2 separate regions of the Homo sapiens genome follow, and region 2 is linked to region 1. Evidence: promoter capture Hi-C in 16 types of primary human blood cells and fetal thymus (Javierre and others, 2016). All regions are on one chromosome and are shown on one strand. The core of a region is centred on a gene start or on the middle of the fragment in contact, and the rest is flanking DNA. Distances in the headings are between cores, read along the strand shown. Region 1 holds the start of KCND1 (potassium voltage-gated channel subfamily D member 1). Region 2 overlaps LOC124905186 (a long non-coding RNA gene).

The links. Contacts are between HindIII fragments. The CHiCAGO score rates a contact against its expected background, and 5 or more counts as called.
Region 2: a fragment that was not itself captured here is called in contact with the fragment with the promoter of KCND1 in region 1 in 3 of 17 cell types (activated CD4 T cells, non-activated CD4 T cells and naive CD8 T cells); the score reaches 7.5 in activated CD4 T cells.

The regions. Positions count from the first base shown.
Region 1 is chrX:48,969,812-48,974,126 of GRCh38, forward strand. It overlaps KCND1 (potassium voltage-gated channel subfamily D member 1), which reads right to left and starts at 2,033. Exons shown (of 6, transcript NM_004979.6): 1 at 1-2,033. The coding sequence starts at 460. It overlaps GRIPAP1 (GRIP1 associated protein 1), which reads right to left. Exons shown (of 26, transcript NM_020137.5): 26 at 3,912-4,315. The HindIII fragment of the contact is 6,364 bases long and covers 1-2,480 here.
Region 2 is chrX:48,647,481-48,652,032 of GRCh38, forward strand. The region is part of intron 1 of LOC124905186 (a long non-coding RNA gene); the gene reads left to right. Among named protein-coding and RNA genes, the nearest start is that of WAS, 34 kb to the right of the region's middle. RefSeq lists an enhancer at 924-1,586. The HindIII fragment of the contact is 7,789 bases long and covers 1-4,552 here.

The DNA of each region.
Region 1 (4,315 bases), core at 783-3,282:
CTGCCTCCTCATCCTCTGCCAGGCGCTCGGCATTCTCCTTCTTTCGGTCCCGATACTCTTCAAGGCAGCAGTCACCGACTAGCTCGGGAACCAGGCCGTAGAAAGCCAGCTCTTCGTCGAAGGCCTGGATGCACTCCTGCCGTGGGCAATGCAGCCGCCCCGTTCGGTAGAAGTTCAGCACATGGCGGAACATGTCAGGGTCGCGATCGAAGAAGTACTCGCCTGAGTCAGCATCGTAGAAGAATTCCTTCTCCGAGCTGCCCAGCAAGGTGTCTGGGTAGCGGTCCAGCGTATTCTTCCAAGTCTCAAAGCGCCGTCCGCTCACGTTCACCACCAGAACCTCATCTCCTCGAGATGCCTTCACCCCCGGTGCCGGGGGCAGGGGTTGCTGGGCCAGGGGCAGCCAGCCCACTGCTGCTGCCCGAGCAAAAGGCAGCCACGTGGCCAGGCCTGCCGCCATCGTGCCACTCCCCAAGCCCAGGGAGACTTAGTGAGGGTGGCGTTTAGGAGAATGTGGCTGTCTCCAGGATGGTGGGGGCTTGGAGACACCTTGAGCCACCCAAACAAGGAAACTGGGGGTGTCTAGAGAGGCCAAGAGGAACCAGGAGGAAGAACTAAAGAGATGGGAAGGAGTCTGGGGGACATTTACAGAACCTAGGAGGGGCCTGGGCAATGTTCTGAGGGACTGAGAAGGGCCTTGGGGACATGGAGAAGAGCAGAAAAGGGGTGTGGGGATGGGGCCAAGAAGGAGCTGAGGGAGGGTTTAGAGAGACTGAGATGATTCTAAAGGAGTCAGCCTGTGCCTGAGAGGTGTCTGGGGGCGTCTAGAGGGGCCAAGAAACACGTGGGGAATTCTCTGCACTCTCAAGAGTCTCAGGGAAGGCAGAAGAGCCTGGAATTCCTTTGCAGTGGTGGAGAGGAGACTGGGGCATCCAGAGGGGTAGAAATGGGACCAGAGGTGCTTGAAAGAGACTGAGAGTGCCTGGAAGTGGGGGTTCTAGAGGGGCTGAGACAGGTGAGGAGGGTTGTCCACACCCTCAAGACTTCTAGGGGAAGCATAAGAGGGTTAGACCCCCCTCATGGATCTGGAAAGGGAGCTGGTGCATCTTGAGGGGTGGCTGTGGATCCAGGAGGTTGTAAAGAGGCTGAAAGGTGTCTTGGGACTGCCTAGAGTTGCCAAGAATAGCCCGGGGGGGTGTCTATACTCTACAGGAGTTCTGGGGAAGAAAGGAGAGGCCAGAGCCTCCTAGTAGGGCTGGAGAGGGGAAGGGGTTATCTAAAGGGGTAGACAGGGGGCTGGGTTATTTTTTGAGAGGCTGAGAGTTATCTGGGGGAGGTGGGTATCTAGACGGGCCAACAAAGCCTGGTCGACACTCTCAGGAGTTCTACAGGGAGGAAAAAGGGGCCTGGGGAATTCCAAGGGCCGGGACTCAAATGTTAGGAAGTTGGGCACAATCCCAGAGCACCCAGGGGATCTATGAAGACTAAATAAGAGGAAGGGGGTTAACCCCAAAATGGGATTAAGAGGGGGGTGGGGTGTTGAAAGGGAGTTGGGTGTGTCTCCAGGGAGGGGGGCTCCTGGGCTTTGCAGGAAGCTGGCAGGAGACGCCGGGAGAAGGCTGGGTCCCACCGTTGGGGGCAGGTCTGGGGAAACCACACCCCGAGGGGCTGGCGGTGTGTACTGGGCAGTGGCAGTAGCAGCAGCGGCAGCAGGAGGAAGAGAAGCAACCACAGCCAGGCATAGGAGAGAAGGTGGCATAGGCAGGGGGAGGGTGCGGGGTCCCTGGAAGGAGGCCTGGGAAGGGCAAGGTCCAGTGGGACCCCTGGGGACTATCCCAGGATGGGTTAGGGCGTGGGGGCTGGACCAGGGAAGGATGAGGACAGCGCTAGTGGTGGTCCCCCTCCCCCTCTCTCTCGGGGCGTCCTCACCTGTGTCCCCGCTGCAGGAGCAGCAACAGCGGTGGGGCTGGGGGTACCAAACACCCGAGCTCCTGGCCCCCTCTGCAGAGCTGCCTGAGTTCTCCTCCTCCTCTGGCTCTCTCTCCCCGCCCCTCTGAGCTTGCCGGGAGATGGAGAGGCAGGGAGGGGCCTCGTGGCTCCCTGAGCCCCCTCCCCTAGGACAGCCAGAGAGGGACCCTGGGGAGACTCCGCCTCCTACAAAGCTGGTTGGGCCTCAGTCGCGTCATCTGGAAAATGGGGGTGGCAGGGAACTTCGCCAATTCTCTCCACCTCCTTCCTGGACTCCCCTCTCTTCCTGCCCAGCTCCTACCCGCTCTGCCCCCAGGGGCCCCCACCCCCACTCGCCTGAATCAGCAGCACTTAGCAGATCCGATCGATGGGAAGGCGTCTGTTAATGGCCCCAGAGCGGAGTGCCACAGGGAATGATGCAGCGCTGTCCCCTCCCTGCCCCCCAGACTGTGGAAAGGCAGGAGAGCCAGGAGTCGGGGGTAATTGCTGGGGAGTGTTTCTCTAGATGGCCAAGCTTCCGAAGCCGCCCCCTTGAGGGGCGCAGCATGGGTTACAGCCCCAGCTCTAAGACTTCGGCTGTGGGATTGGAGCACGGGACTTCCTGTTTTTAGATATGAAATGAGGGTAAAGGGAATGTAGAGGGGGACAATCCAGGTCCCACCCCCCTACCATCTCAGGCAGGCCCCACTCCGAGGGGGTAGTCTCTCTTATCTGTCCATATCCAGTGGCCTCAAATCACACCTCCTCCGCTAGAGGGCTCTGCTTCTGGATGGCAGGAGCACTGATTATGGAATGCCTCTGGCTGGCTATGGGTGGGTTCAAACCCCAGCTTTGCCACTGACTTGCTGCATCCTTGAGCAAGTGACTTGCATTGTTTCCTCAGTTGTCAGATGGAGAGACTTATCCCAACTTGATAGCGTCATTTGGAGCATTACATGATGTGAAAGGTGATAGCACTGGACACAGCTCACACCAGGGATGCTTAATCTTAATTAAAGGAGTGTGATGACAGGGGCACTGTAATGCAGGGCCAGGCCTAGCCTTTCACCCAAGATTTACCCACCCGTGTAAACTTCCAATTGCCCATTTGGCACACTCCTGATTTGTCCATTTCTACATCCATTCCTCCACCTACCCATCCACCCATTCTCCCACCCACACAATCAATTCCTCTATCCATCCCTCCACCCACCCGTCCACTTAGTCGTTAATCTACCCACCCACTCATTCATCCATTTGTAAGTTCACCCCATTTGGCTGTTTGCCAATCTATCTGTATGTATCCATCCTCTGCCCATCTCTTCCCACCCGGAACACATGCAGGGTGACATCCTCTGCCCATCTCTGTCCATACATAGCTCCACTTGTCATTTCTTCTCCCACTCTTTACCCTTCCCATTCATTAGCTCATCTACCCATCCATCCATTCCCCCAACCATTGGTCCATTTACTCCTAACCTGTCCATAAACCCATCCATCCACCTGTCTACCTAAATCATCCACCCATTTGTCCATAGACCTATTATCCATCTGTCCATTTACATCTCTACTATCCATCCTCTATCCACCTACCAATCTATCTACCCATTTATTCATCTAACCACCTATCCATCCATCCATTTATTTCCCAATCTATCCATCATCAGTCCATGCAACCGTTCACTTATACATCCATCGGTCCATCCAACCACTTATCCATCCTCCCATCTGTCTACTCATCTATACCCACAATCCCATACATGTCTACCCATGTACATATCTGCAGGTATTTCAGCTCCACTCAGTTTGAGGGGCTGGTCAGCAGTAAATGGAGACAGGCTGGATGAGGGTGGGGAAAAGAGAGTAACGTTGCAGCCAGAGACCTCTCTCCCTATTCCAATGGTGTAAACCTCCCCGCCCCCAGCATATTCCTCCTGGTTGAAAAGAACGAGACGAGACAGTCAGTGGGTGGGCCCGTCTGGCCAGATGGTATTTTGGCTGCATAGCCTTTACACACACACACACACACGTGTTGCTAGAACGCTGAACATGGACCACACACCCACCCAGCATCCCCAATCCCAAATGCAGAGTAGCCAGGCTCCAGACATAAATTAAAAAATAAAATAAAATAAAATAAAAAGAGTTGGTCTCTGGGAAGGAGAGCTCATGCAGAGATGAAGACAGAAGCCCTTGGGAGCCAGGACCAAGAAGAAGGAGAAATCCCTGCCCCTTCCCTCAGGATCCCCACTCCCTGGTGGCCTCTGCCCTAAGACAGGATCATTAACACTAACCATCAGGCCTCTAGCCCCTTTAATGTCCAGTCTCCCAAGCTATTTGATTTTGGCTCCAGCCCTCATTTTTCCAC
Region 2 (4,552 bases), core at 1,825-4,324, 320 kb before region 1:
TTCTTGCACCTGTGCTCTTCTTTTTAAAATGTTTTTGAGTGTTTTTATTTAACACTAATACACATTGGGTTTGGCCAAATAGATGTCTTTTCATCCCTGTGCCCCTCTGCAATGATACATTTCTGGAGAGGAGAGGCCAGGCAGGTTTCATTATCCTTACACATTACCTGGCAAGCTGCCATGTGCAACAGGTATTTAATACATATTTTTTGAAAAACAATCTCTCATGTCTTTGGAATCATTGGGAACTACAACCAAGTGAAGGCAGTAGAAGTTGGTGGCTGATGAAGTGCCTACAATGCATGCTATTTCTATAGGGAAGATTCCAAACGTACGTCAATTGTTAGTAAAGGAATTGATAGAGGCCAGGCATGGTGGCTCATGCCTGTAATCCCAGCACTTTGGGAGGCCGGGGCAGGCGAATTGCTTGAGCCCAGGGGTTCAAGATGTAGCCTGGGCAACATTGTGAGATTCCGTCTCTACTAAAAATACAAAAATTAGCCACATGTGGTGGCTCACACCTGTAGTCTCAGCTACTTGGGAGGCTGAAGTGGAAGGATCGCCTGATTCCAGGAGTTCAAGACCACGCTGGGCAACATAGGGAGACCTCGTCACTACCAAAAATAAAAAAAATTATCTGGGCGTGGTGGCTCATGCCTGTGGTCCCAGCTACTTAGGAGGCTGAGGTGGGAGGATTGCCTGAGCCAAGGAGGTCGAGGCTGCAGTGAGCTGAGATCATGCCACTGCACTCCAGCCTGGGTGACAGAATGAAAGCCTGTCCCCCAAAAAATAAAATAATGAAATCATGAGCTAAACCAAGTACAAAATTAATAAATAAAAAGATTAAAAATAAAAATAAAATAAAGGAATGGATAGAAGGGATGAATTGTCAACAAGATCCCGATATGTTTTCCCTTCTGATTTCAAGTATCTAATTCAGTTATTCATTTTACCCTGAGGGTGGCAGCAGGAGTCTCTTCTATCGCCCAAGCGTTGCCAAGAGGCAACTTTTAGGTCACTCTGACATGAGCTAACAGATGCAGTTTCTGGTTAGAGAGCTTGGACAGATCCATGCCATTTCCTCTCCCTTACAAGGTTGGGGGGAAAGGCTGCGTGCGGCCTCAGGAAACCCTGGGGAGCAGCAGGGATCCTCCCCAGCTGTCGCCCAATTAGAAAGCCAGTGATTTAACAGAAGGCCAAGAAGACTCACAGGGCCAGGCCTGGGGTTCTCTTTGTTCCACCTTTTTTCCCATGCTGAGAAATGAAAGAGAAAAACATTGCATGACAAGAATTAATGGTGTCAAACAAATAGCATCAAAGACAATTTAAGTATTGCTCTTCTCTCTCGGAAATGGATGAAGACAAAGAGTAGTGGCTTCCTTTTTACCCATTAACTGCTCTACATTTGGAAAGAGCTGGTGGACAGTGTTTTCATACTGTATCCATTCAGCTTGATGCTTACAAATGTACAGTTCAGAAATTTTTCAAGGAAACAGTTTGCTACAAAGCACATAGTTTCCTCTGATCATAACCATGACCTCGTTTATAATCATAATCTTGTTTATAATCTCAGGATGCCAACATGCCCAAAATGACTTTGGAATCATTGTTTTAAAATTTCATCTTTTTTTAAGACTTTATTTTTTAGAGCAGTTTTAGGTTCATGGCAAAATTGAGCAGAAAGTGCAGAAATTTCCCAGATAACTCCTGCCCCTACACACCCACAACCTCTGTCACTATCACCACCCCTAACCAGAGCTGTACAGTTGTTGCAATTGATGAACCTGCAATTGACGCATCATCATCACCCAAAGTCCATAGTTTACATTATGACTCACTCGTGTTGTATATTTTATGGGTTTTGACAAAGATACAAGGACACATATCCATCATTGCAGTATCATGCAGAGTAGTTTCACTGCCCTAAAAATCCTCTGTGCTCCACTTATTCATCTCTCCTTCCCCTCAACTCCTGTAAACCACTAATCTTTTTACTGCCTCCTTAGTTTTGCCTTTTCCGGAATGTCATATAGTTGGAATCATACAGTATGTAGCCTTTTCAGATTGGCTTCTTTCACTTAGTATATCAGTCTGTTCTCATGCTGCTTATAAAGACATACCCAAGACTGGGTAATTTATAAAGAGGTTTAACGGAGTCACAGTTCCACGTGGCTGGGGAGGCCTCACAATAATGGTGGAAGGTAAAAGGCATGTTTTACATGGTGGCAGATAAAAGAGAATGTGGACCAAGCAAAAGGGTTTTCCCCTTATGAAACCATCAGATTTTGTGAGACTTATTCACTACCATGAGAACAATATGAGGGAAACTGCCCCCCATGATTCAGTTATCTCCCACTGGGTCTCTCCCACAACGCGTGGGAATTATGGGAGCTATAATTCAAGATGAGATTTGGGTGGGGACACAGCCAAACCTATCACTTAGTAATATGCATTTAAGTTTCCTCCATTTTTTTTTTTTTTTCTGAGACAGAGTCTCGCTCTGTCACCCAGGCTGGAGTGCAGTGGCGCGATCTCGGCTCTCTGCAACCTCCGCCTCCCGGGTTCAAGTGATTCTCCTGCCTCAGCTTCCTGAGTAGCTGGGATTACAGGCGTGTGCCACCACGCCCAGCTCATTTTTAGTAGAGATGGGGTTTCACCATGTTGGCCAGGCTGGTCTCAAACTCCTGACCTCAAGTGATCCACCTGCCTCCGCTTCCCAAAGTGCTAGGATTACAGGCATGAGCCACCGCGCCTGGCCTCTTCCATGTCTTTTTATGGCTTGGTAGCTCAGTTCTTTTTCTCACTGCATAATATTCCACTATCTGGATGTACCAGTTTATTTATCCACTCACCTACCAAAGGACATTTTGGTTGCTTCCATGTTTTTGCAATTATGAATAAAGCTGCTATAAACATTCCTGTGTGTAGATTTACGTGGGGACATAAGTTTTCAAGTCATTTGGGTAAATATCAAGGAATGCAATTACTGGATGGTATAGTAAGAGTATGTTTAGTTTTGTAAGAAGCCGCCAAACTGTCTTCCAAAGTGGCTGTGCCATTTTGCATTCTCATGAATGAGAGTTTCTGTTGCTCCACATCCTCGACAGCATTTGGTGTTGTCAGTGTGTTGTTTTCACCATTCTAATAGGTGTGTAGTGGCATCTCACTGTTGTTTTATTTTATTTTTTATTTTTTTAATTTTGAGACAGGGTTTCACTCTCGTTGCCCAGGCTGGAGTGCAATGGCGCGATCTTGACTCACCGCAACTTCCGCCTCCCAGGTTCAAGCAATTCTCCTGCCTCAGCCTCCCTAGTAGCTGGGATTACAGGCATGTGCCACCACGCCCAGCTAATTTTGTATTTTTAGTAGAGACGGGGTTTCTCCATGTTGGTCAGGCTGGTCTTGAACTCCTGACCTCAGGTGATCCGCCCGCCTTGGTCTCCCAAAGTGCTGGGATGACAGGCATGAGCCACTGCGCCCAGCCTAACTGTTGTTTTAATTTGCAAGTCTCTAATGACATATGATGTTGGGCATCTTCATATGCTTATTTGCCATCTGTCCACCTTCTTTGGTGAGGTGTCTATTCAGGTCTTTTGCCCATTTTTTAATCAGGTTGTTCATTTTCTTACCGTTGAGTTTTAAGAGCTCTTTGCAATTTTGGATAATAGTCATTTATCAGACACCTCTTTTGCAAATATTGTGGCTTGTCATTTCATTCACGTTTGTGGGGAGGGGGGAACGGAGTCTCACTCTGTCACCCAGGCTGGAGTGCAGTGGTGCAATCTCGGCTCACTGCAACCTCTGCCTCCTGGGTTCAAGCAATTCTCCTGCCTCAACCTCCAAGTAGCTGGGATTACAGGTGCACACTACCACACCTGGCTATCATCTCATTCTCTTGATCATCCTTTTTTCTTAAATTAAAAAGTGAGCAATTTCTTTGCAGTCAGAACAACATTTCTGTTGGCAGTGTGTGGTGGTAAAGAGGGGGACTCTGGAGTTAGCTTGGATTTGAATTCCAGTTCTGCCACTTATTAGCTGTGCCAGTTACTGAATGTCTCTGTGCTGCACTTTCCTCATCTTTAAAATGGGTATATGAGCTGGGCGTGGTGGCTCATGCCTGTAATCCCAGCACTCTGAGAGGCAGAGGTGGGTGGATTGCTTGAGGTCAGGAGTTCAAGACCAGCCTGGGCAACACGGCAAAATCCCGTCTCTACAAAAAATACAAAAATTAGCTGAGTGTGGTGGTGCACACCTGTAGTCTCAGCTACTTGGGGGACTGAGGTGGGAAGATCGCTTGGGCCCAGGAGGAGGAGGCTGCAGTGAGTGGAGATCGTGCCATTGCACTCCAGCCTGGGCGAGAGAGTGAGACTCTGTCTCCAAATTAAATAAAACAAGATGGAGATAAACCCGTACTCATAGGGTTGCTGTGAAAATTAGGTCAATTAATATAATTAGTATAAGAGATTTAAAACAGTTTCTGCAATATTTATTATTAAATTATTTGATTAGAACAAAAGATATAGTTTGCACAGTGGCAGAGACATGCATGAAA